Linked DNA regions of Homo sapiens: regions 1 and 2 are each linked to region 3. The links are contacts of gene promoters, found by promoter capture Hi-C in blood cells and fetal thymus (Javierre and others, 2016). All regions are on one chromosome and are shown on one strand. The core of a region is centred on a gene start or on the middle of the fragment in contact, and the rest is flanking DNA. Distances in the headings are between cores, read along the strand shown. Region 1 overlaps LOC124904260 (a long non-coding RNA gene). Region 2 has its middle 23 kb from the start of CTAGE1. Region 3 holds the start of GATA6-AS1 (GATA6 antisense RNA 1 (head to head)).

Evidence for each region. The method cuts DNA at HindIII sites, captures the fragments that hold promoters and counts their contacts. A CHiCAGO score of 5 or more calls a contact.
Region 1: a fragment that was not itself captured here is called in contact with the fragment with the promoter of GATA6-AS1 in region 3 in 1 of 17 cell types (endothelial precursors); the score reaches 5.9 in endothelial precursors.
Region 2: a fragment that was not itself captured here is called in contact with the fragment with the promoter of GATA6-AS1 in region 3 in 4 of 17 cell types (endothelial precursors, M1 macrophages, total CD8 T cells and 1 more); the score reaches 7.8 in endothelial precursors.

Annotation. Positions count from the first base shown.
Region 1 is chr18:22,459,104-22,461,981 of GRCh38, reverse strand. The region is part of intron 2 of LOC124904260 (a long non-coding RNA gene); the gene reads left to right. Among named protein-coding and RNA genes, the nearest start is that of CTAGE1, 43 kb to the right of the region's middle. The HindIII fragment of the contact is 1,436 bases long and covers 724-2,159 here.
Region 2 is chr18:22,439,726-22,442,515 of GRCh38, reverse strand. No RefSeq gene overlaps it. Among named protein-coding and RNA genes, the nearest start is that of CTAGE1, 23 kb to the right of the region's middle. The HindIII fragment of the contact is 1,870 bases long and covers 598-2,467 here.
Region 3 is chr18:22,167,091-22,170,217 of GRCh38, reverse strand. GATA6-AS1 (GATA6 antisense RNA 1 (head to head)) reads left to right here and starts at 1,250. Exons shown (of 2, transcript NR_102763.1): 1 at 1,250-1,551; 2 at 1,835-3,127. It overlaps GATA6 (GATA binding protein 6), which reads right to left and starts at 629. Exons shown (of 7, transcript NM_005257.6): 1 at 536-629. RefSeq lists an enhancer at 2,481-2,984. The HindIII fragment of the contact is 8,900 bases long and covers 1-3,127 here.

The DNA of each region.
Region 1 (2,878 bases), core at 192-2,691, 290 kb before region 3:
CATTGGAATCTCAGTATATACATATTTTTTCAGAGGTCTATATATTTTAGTGTCCTTTATTGACTTAAGCTGCCTTTTCTCTACTGATTTAAGCTACCAACTTCTGTTATATACTAGTTTACCATATATATTTCTATCTACTTACCCGTATACCAATACCATGAGGTGTTAATTGATACCACTTTACAATGCATTTGACACCTGGTAGGGTAGTCTTATTCATTAATCATCACACTCCACTGCACCCCAACTCTAGCTAGCTGCTTTTTAGATTTTCTCTTTGTTTATGTATTCTGCAATTTCTTTGTGATGTGCCTTGATGCAAATTTCTTTTCACTTATCTTTAATAGTTATTATTGTTCTTTCAATAACCTACCACCTCACTTTTTTCTCATCTTCTGAAATAACAATTACACTTTTGAAAGAGAAGAAAGACCATCTTGGAAAAAAGAGACCTTCTCTCTCTGTCCTCTACGTCTCTTTACCACTCTCCTATATTTTTCATTTCTTTGCCTCTTTGCACTATAATTCTGTATAATTTATTCACATTATCTTCAGTTCTCTAATTCTGTCTTCCACAGTGTCTAATCTGCCACCATACCCATTCACTGACTTTTCAATTTCTGTTACTCTATTTTTAATTTTAGAAGTGCTAGTTGATCTTTTTCTAACCCACAATGTCAATTTTTATTGTTGACTATTTCTTGCAGATATTTTAAAGCTTACCTTACATTTATTTAAATAAAATTAACATAGCTCTTTGTACTCTGTGTCTGGTCATTCAAACAGCTGCAGTTGTCTAACTCGCCTCTGCTGTCTATTTTGCTGACATTAACTATTGGTGCTTTGTTTTCTGAGTTTAGTAATCTTCAACTGTACTGCTTACTGCCCTTGAGAAACCATTTATACAAAATCCTCGAGGCCTAGGATGAAAGTATCTGCCTCCAGAGATGATTAGAGCTTGCTTCTGCCAGGTGCTTGGGGGTACTGTAGTTGTGTATCACTTTAAATTCATAGCTCAAAGTTTCTTGGCTCATCCCAAAGACATGTATTTGAGCAGCATATGGGCAAATACTGCCAGCCAATGATTCAGTGATGACGTCCTATCAGGGACGGGTTTTCTTTTTCTTTTCTCTGCTTTGCTTAGTGTCAAGGTAACTCTCCCATGGTCCCCTGGGGTAGTGGGAAGGGGAGCAGGTTCACCTTTGGTTTGTCCTTACCCTGAAGGTGAACCCCTTCAGACTCACAGCTTAATGTGAGGCAAGAGTCTCCTATGAGACCCTCCTTCCTACCTTGGGTGAGTCTTGGCCTTTGACTTCCGTATTCTTCATTCTGAGAGTCCATGAAAACCACAGCCAACTCAACTTAACCTGATCAACCACGGGCAAAATCCAATCAGGGCAAAACCTAATCACTTGGGAAGTCCTGATTATCTTGTCAGCTTTTCAGTGCTTTTAAAATCAAGTTTGTTTAATATGTTATCCAAATATTCATTGTTTTAACTGCAAGAATTAATCTAAATAACTAAGTCCATTATTACCAGACATGGAATGTCTGTTGATTTTTCTTATAAGTTTTAGTAACAGCTTATCTAGCTTTTTAAAATCCTATATTTTTATTGGCTTCAAATTCCATTTATAGATATCATTGGGAGAGTTAAATTTTTTGCTTTAAGTCTTCCTACTTAAGAATATGTCATGCCTTTCCATTTCTTTCATTTTTTTCTCCTCAATAACGTTTTAAAGTTACATTTTATATGACTTACACTTTGTGTTAAATTTTTACTCTTACACTTTTCAAAATTATTTTTATCTCTTTTTTTTTGCCCACATCTCACATTCCTTTTTACCAAAATGTTAGCTTTAAAAAATATATACCTAGGTGTTTTCTTTCTTTCAGTTAAATTAATATAAATATTAAACCTTTAAGTTTTTTCCAGAATTCTGCTTTAGCTCTGTCCCATAGGTTCTGATATGTACTAGCTTAATTATTTTCATTTATAAAAATATAACCCTTAATTATTTTTATTTTTAAAAATATATCCCTAATGGAAGAGTTGCACATGAAAGAATATTTTAGCATTTCCAGGTGGTAGAATTTTTCTCCTTCCTTATTTTATTATTAGTTTTTAAATGAATTGCTTTGTGATCAGAGAAGCTTTTCTGGACTCAGTCTAATTTCTGAAGTTTAGTAACATGTTCTTTGTGGACTTGGATATGGTCAGTTTCCAGCAGAATCTGAGTCTCCGTTCTGCTGCTTCCACTGTGGTCTTGGTTTCTAGGTTGTCATTTTTGCTAAGTTCTGCCAACTTATGTTTCACTTCCCATTGTCTTGCTAAATATTTCCTAAACTACTGTATATGTTTTTTTGAGCTCCTGTTTTTTAAAGGCGATTGTTTCACTAAGTTTTTTCTTTTCTTTTTAAATTCATGAAAGTATGTTGGGTCATAAATGTCATCTGTTTTGTGGCAATATTTTTCTAGTGAAGCTTTTTTTTTTTTTTTTTTTTTTTGAGACAGAGTCTTGCTCTGTCAGCCAGGCTGCAGTGCAGTGCTCAATCTCGGCTCACCATAAGATCCGTCTCCTGGGTTCACACCATTCTCCCGAGAAGCTGGGACTACAGGCGCCTGCCACCATGCCTGGCTAATTTTTTGTATTTTTAGTAGAGATGGGGTTTCACGGTGTTAGCCGGGATGGTCTCGATCTCCTGACTTCGTGATCCGCCCGCCTTGGCCTCCCAAAGTGCTGGGATTACAGGCGTGAGCTACCGCCCCCGGCTGTAAAGCTTTTTTAAACCTAATTTATTTGCTTTTCTTGTTTCATTCATTCTCTTTTCATCTATAGATACTGTGTGTGTTCCTTTTTGAATACTACCCATC
Region 2 (2,790 bases), core at 283-2,782, 270 kb before region 3:
CTCCTCTATTCTTTTTTCTCTAAAGAGGATTTCCAGTTGTTCCAGCACCATTTGTTAGAAAAACTATCTTTTCTGCATTGTATTGCCTTTGCTTCTTTGTCAAAGATCAGTTGAATATGTTTGTGTGGGTCTATTTCTGGGCTCTTTATTCTGTTCCATTGATTTATTTGTCTCTTCTTTCACCAGCACCACACTGTGCTGATTACTGTAACTTTACAGTAAGTTTTCATGTTTGGTAGTGTTAGTTCTCCAATTTTGTTCTCCTTCAGTATTGTGTTGTCTATTCTGGGTCTTTTTCCTCTCCATATAAACTTTAGAATTAGTTTTTTGATAGCCACAAAAAATACTTGCTGGGAGTTTGACTGGGATTGTATTAAATCTGTAGATCTAGTTGGGAAGAATCAACATCTTGATAATAGTGAGTCTTCCTATCCATGAATATGGGATATCTCTCCACTTAGTTCTTTGATTTCTTTCATCAAAGTTTTTTCTCATATAGGTAATAAATATGTTTGCTAAATTTGTACCTAAGCATTTCTTATATTTTCCTCTGTAAATTTTTGTAGTTTTTCTCATATGGACACATTTCTTTAAGCTTATTCATAGGTGCATTATATATTTTGGCTGCCACACATTCACTTTTCAAATATCCAATAACTTACTTGGTAGCAGGCCCCCTATTGGTAGCAGGTATTGGTGATTCTATGGGAAACAAAAATAGATTTGGTAACTGCCCTTATAACATTTACAGTCAAGTAGAGGATGCACATACTAACAAATATCACATAATGTAAAACATAACTGTGATATAAGCTGTAAAGGAGAAGTAAATAGTAATATAAGATTATATAATAAGGAAATTTGACCTGGGAAGGTCAACACAGATTTCTCTGAGGAAAGGACAATTGACCTTTGAAGGATCAGGCTTCAAAGAAGAAAGAAAACTATATTCCAGGCAGAGGGAAGAGTTACGTGCAAAGGTGAGGTGGGAAAGCAGTACAAGTTTCTGGGGGAAAAAATGAGAGCACATAGAATGAGAAGGAGTGTGCTACTGGTTGAACTTGGTAAGGATAGCTTAACCTTCTAGGGTCTGGGTGTGGGTCTTTAATCTAGGAGTGATACGGAGCCACTGGGGGATTTTAGGCAGAGATCACTTGATAAGATTTGCTTTTCAAAAAATTTCACATTGCTGGTGGATGAAAACTCATCAGAGGTGGCATGAGTAGATGTGGCAAGACACAAATGAGGCTGTGGCCTTGTATGTGCATAAATATGTACATGTATATGTGTTGAATTTCTCAAATCAATTAGAATGCCACCTTATTCTTTCCCACAACAGGCCCTTCAAATCTGTTCTTTTGACTTGTTTTTTTCCATTGCTAGCTTAATCACAAGCATGTCTATAGTTATCTGGTCATTTTTTACATAATAGAAGTTCAGCCCTATAAAATAAATGCATAGCTTAAATTTGTGGTCTAATCAAAAACATGTTGATATAATTTGGGTGTTTATTTGTCCCTGCCCAAATCTGATGTTGAAATGTAATCCCCAGTGTTGGAGGTAGGGCCTGGTGAGAAGTGTTTGGATCATGGGGGTGGATTCCTCATGAATAGCTTGGGCCATCCCCTGGATGATGATTGAGCTCTTGTTCTGAGTTCGCATGAGATCTGGTCATTGAAGTGTGTGCCCCACCCCCACTCACTCTCTTGCTCGTGCTCTGCTTTCTGAGGCACTGACTTTCCCTTTGGCTTCCATGAGTAAAAGCTCCCTGAGGCCTCCCCAGAAGCTGAGCAAGTTCTGTCACAAAGCTCCCTGTACAGCTGACAGAACCATGAGCCTATTAAACCTCTTTTCTGTATAAATTACCGCAGCCTCGGGTATTTCTTTATGGCAATGCAAGAATGGCCTAATACACATGTCTCCTTCCCCAGTGGTTTGGAAACCTGCAGTGGAAATAGGCACTTTGGCCAACTTCTTTTCCCATGTCTGGCTCCACCAACTCACCTATTTGCAAGCTATTGTTTTAACCATCTCCAAGGTTGGGCACAGGCTAGGAGTTAGGGGAAAGTAGGAATAGAGAGGACAGCTAAAGGACAGAAAAGTCTTACCTGGCTGGTGCAGTTGTAACCTAGAATAGATGCCCTCTGCATATAGCAGACTCCTTATGAAGATGCACTCTTTTTTGGGGTGTTCCTATGAGGTCCTTAGGGTCCTCTCCTCTGTAATTCTCCTTGACTATTGCTAGGATCTCTCACATACAGCTACCTTCACATAGGCAGTGCTCCTCTTACTGGCTGCTAATGACTAGCACCATGAATTCCAGGAGTTTGTCTCTCTGTTAGGAGTCACATATGACCAACATAGTTCCTCTCAAAATGATATAATCCAGCTTCATTCTTTGGACCCAATATTTGGCCCATAGGAAATTTACACGTTCTTTCCCCTTCCCAACTGAGGAAGTCAAGCTTTTCTAATCAACTTCTTCCCTTGGCTTTGTTATCTTGGAGCTCCTGGCCAGTCATAGCCTCTTACCTTTACTCTTTTCAGGGATCAATCAGATACCAGGCCTGTCTCTCTCTAACCAGGGGACCCATGTCAAGCTTTTCAAATAGTACTCTTAAAACCCTACTTCAAAGACTCTCTCTTTTTCTTCCATGGGTGAAATACATGGCCCATTAGCCATTCTTTAAAAAGAAAAGAAAAGAAAAAAAAAACCTCAACACAGACCTCTTTAATTACAATGAATTCTTTGTCTTCTCTTTTATATCCTAGAGGGGAGTGATGGGCCAA
Region 3 (3,127 bases), core at 1-2,500:
GAGAAAAGGAGGGGGAACGCAACGGGCTGGGGAGGGGGGAGCGTGAGACCGCCCCAGAGCCGAGGCGACCCCAAATGGGAGAGCAGGAAGAATGACAGGGAGACTCGGAGCGAGTGGGGGAGGGAGGTGAAATGCAGCCGGGCTGGCCTCCTCCAGGCTGCTCTTCCAAATCGCCTCGGCTCATCGGAGATTACCACACTAAAATTAATGCCCACACACAGACCTGGCTAGATAGCAAGAAAGAAGTTTCTCTGCCTGCCTAACTACCGGCTCCCGCCCCTTTGCGCCGAGATAACTCGGAGATAAGGCTGCGCGCAGATAAGCGCTTCGAGGAGAGAAAAAGAGACTAGAAGTTGGTCCGCGGTGTCCCGGGAGCCTGGGAGCCGCCTCAGCCCGCCCGGAGGGAAGGAGGGAAACACCGTCGGAGCCGACCGCGGCCTGGAGAGGGCCGGAGAGCCGGAGGCCAGGGGCCCGCGACGAGTAGGGGTGGAGGGGAGGAAAGCGGGGAGATCGCGCGAGGAGGAAGCAGCCGAACCTCGGGCGGGCGCTGCGCATGGAGAACGGCCGCGGCGGAGGGTGCTCCCAGGCGCGGAGAGAAGCCGAGGGCGCCAGCGGGCGAGCGCGAGTCCGGGGTCTGCGCCGCGCTGCTGGTGAATAAAAAGGAGAGAGGAGGCGCCTCTTACTGCTCTGCCGGAAAACTGCAGCCTGGGCTCCTGATTGGACTCACCGAGCCCTAAACAAACAGCGCTCGCCGAAGGGTGCCAGGCTGTGGGTCGGAACTGCGCTCAGCGAGCAGCTGGGCGCTGGAGGTGAAGAGGAGGAGGAGGGATCGAGGGGAGGAGAGAAAAGAGGGTGGGGAGGGGACGGCGAGGGGGGAGGGGAGCGCGCCGCCCAGGCAGACAATGAGAGCCGCGCTGCCTGCGGGCGTGGGCTGAGCCGCAAGCCCTGTCCCCGGAGTGGGGGCGAGTCCACCCGGGGGGCACCGAGCCCAGGGACCCCGGGGGAGGGGCGGAGGCCACAGAACGCCTGACCTGGCTAGCGACCCGCACCCATCCAGCGGCGGTGCACCCTCCCGCTCCCGCAGTCGCACACACACACCCACACGAGGGAGGGGGAGGGAGCCTTGGCACGGGAGGAGTTGGCAGTGCACAGTCCCGCGCCGCCGCCGCGGCGGGAGGGGCGCTCCAGACCTTGGGTCAGCACGCCCCCAGAAGGAAGGGGGAACGTGCTCTGCGCCCCCCCGCCCCCCAACCCCCGCCTAGCCCCTTCACAGCAAATGCGCTTTTTGCCCTGAAGTTGTGTGAGACCGACCTTAAACTTTCTCCGACCCTATCTCGGGATGCTACGGCTCAGGTCGTGGTGGTTTCGGGAACCTCAAGACAACATTCCCCAGCTGACCTTTGGGAACTTTAACTCGGGTCGTCATGTACGGAAAGGTAGTCTATGGGGTACGCAGAATGGAAAAGGGCTTCCACATCAGTCGTGTCCGAGGACGCTCTCCAACTTTTGATGTCCCTGGAGAGTTTCTGATATTTCCCTGGAGAGTTTCAGGTAAGTCACAGATAAGTCACTGCGAAGAGGGGGTGTCACCTTCCCTGGACCCAGCGCTAAATGCTGCTTCCCCACCCCCACGTTCATATACACACCCCCTCTTCGCTCCCTCCAAACAGTTATCACAACTCTGTACAAACTGATACGGTCCCTAGCGGGCAAAAGGGACTGGAAATGAACGTCGCGGGGTTATCAGCGCCGATCTGTCAGCGGCAACTCGCGCGGCCGCAGGCTCGTCCGCTGCAGGAGCCGTGATATATGTCTCGCTCCCTTTCGCTTACAGAAAGGATTTCTTCCGACAGACGTGACCCCAGAAGGCTGCCGAGGGAGACTTTAGGACAAGAGGCGTTGTTTTTGTGAGAATGAATTTTTATACTTTACCCCGACCCCACCCCCTACCCCCCGCCCAGGTAAATCCAAGTAAATGATTTTCTGAAGGTCGGTCTCCTAGAAAGCGTTTAGGCTCTGGTTTTTTGTTTTGTTTCTATTTTCGTGTTTTCCCAGTTAGGGAAGGAAGAGGAGCCTGTGCAGAGTTGAACTGGGGTGGAGAGGTGCCTTGTAAAGTATGGTTTCCAGAGATGGTGAGACCTCGTAGCTAAGCGTTGTTTCCTCTGCACGTAACTGTGAGTTGTGAACTTGTGGCTCCTGGGGGAGCGGGACAGGGCCTGGCAGTGCGGGGGAGGGGGCAAGGAATTCAGGAAGTTGGCGAGAATTCTTCGTTTTTCATTCTTCGTTGTAAATTGCTTCTAAACACTTCTGAATTTTAAATTGCTACCGAGAAGGTCCAGAAACCGTTCTCATCCAATTTAGTCACTTTTATTACGTTCCACTTTGCCTCCCCCAATCACTGCGGCGGCTCCCAGTTTCAGCGTGGCCGCATTTGGAAAAGGCTGAAGGTAGAAAACTCTGGAATGGAGAGGCTGGCGACTGGAGCAGGATCCAGGGGCTTTAAATTTTAACCTGAATGCGATCGAATGCGCGACTCCCAGAAGAGATAGCCAGGCGTCCGCCCGGCCGCTCAACCCCCGCCAGGACTCGGAATGCCTTGCTTTTGGTTCTTTTCGTGAGTTCCGACCAAATGTTTAAGTGGACTGGGTTTTGCAGAAGCTCATTTGTAAGCACTGACGGAAATGGGTTGTGGGCATTTGATTTCCTTTGATTCCAACGTTTTGAAATAATGTTTCTCGGATTTGCTATTCGAAGCAATTTTCTAAAAACTCATATCTTATTTGCTAAAAATAAACTCTTTGGCTCAGTTTGTGTCCAGGCTGTGTACGGCCTCCAACCCTGAGCCCCGAGGAGATCGAGCCCTGGCGCGAGCCTGATCTCTGTCCTGTGTGTTTCTTTGTATTTGCAAGTACAAGGATGTCTGCGTGGATATCCCTGGACACTCGATACCCCCCGGGGACCTGCTTTTCCCGCAGCTCCGCAGACGCGGCGGGAGGGCGCGCTGGCCCCGGCGCTGCTGGGACAGAGGTGAGCAGCGGGGTGGACATTGACCGATTCGACAACGTTCGGGCTCTAAGGGCTCGGGAAGGGACCCGGCATTTTACCCTCCAGATTCCCAATCTATTTT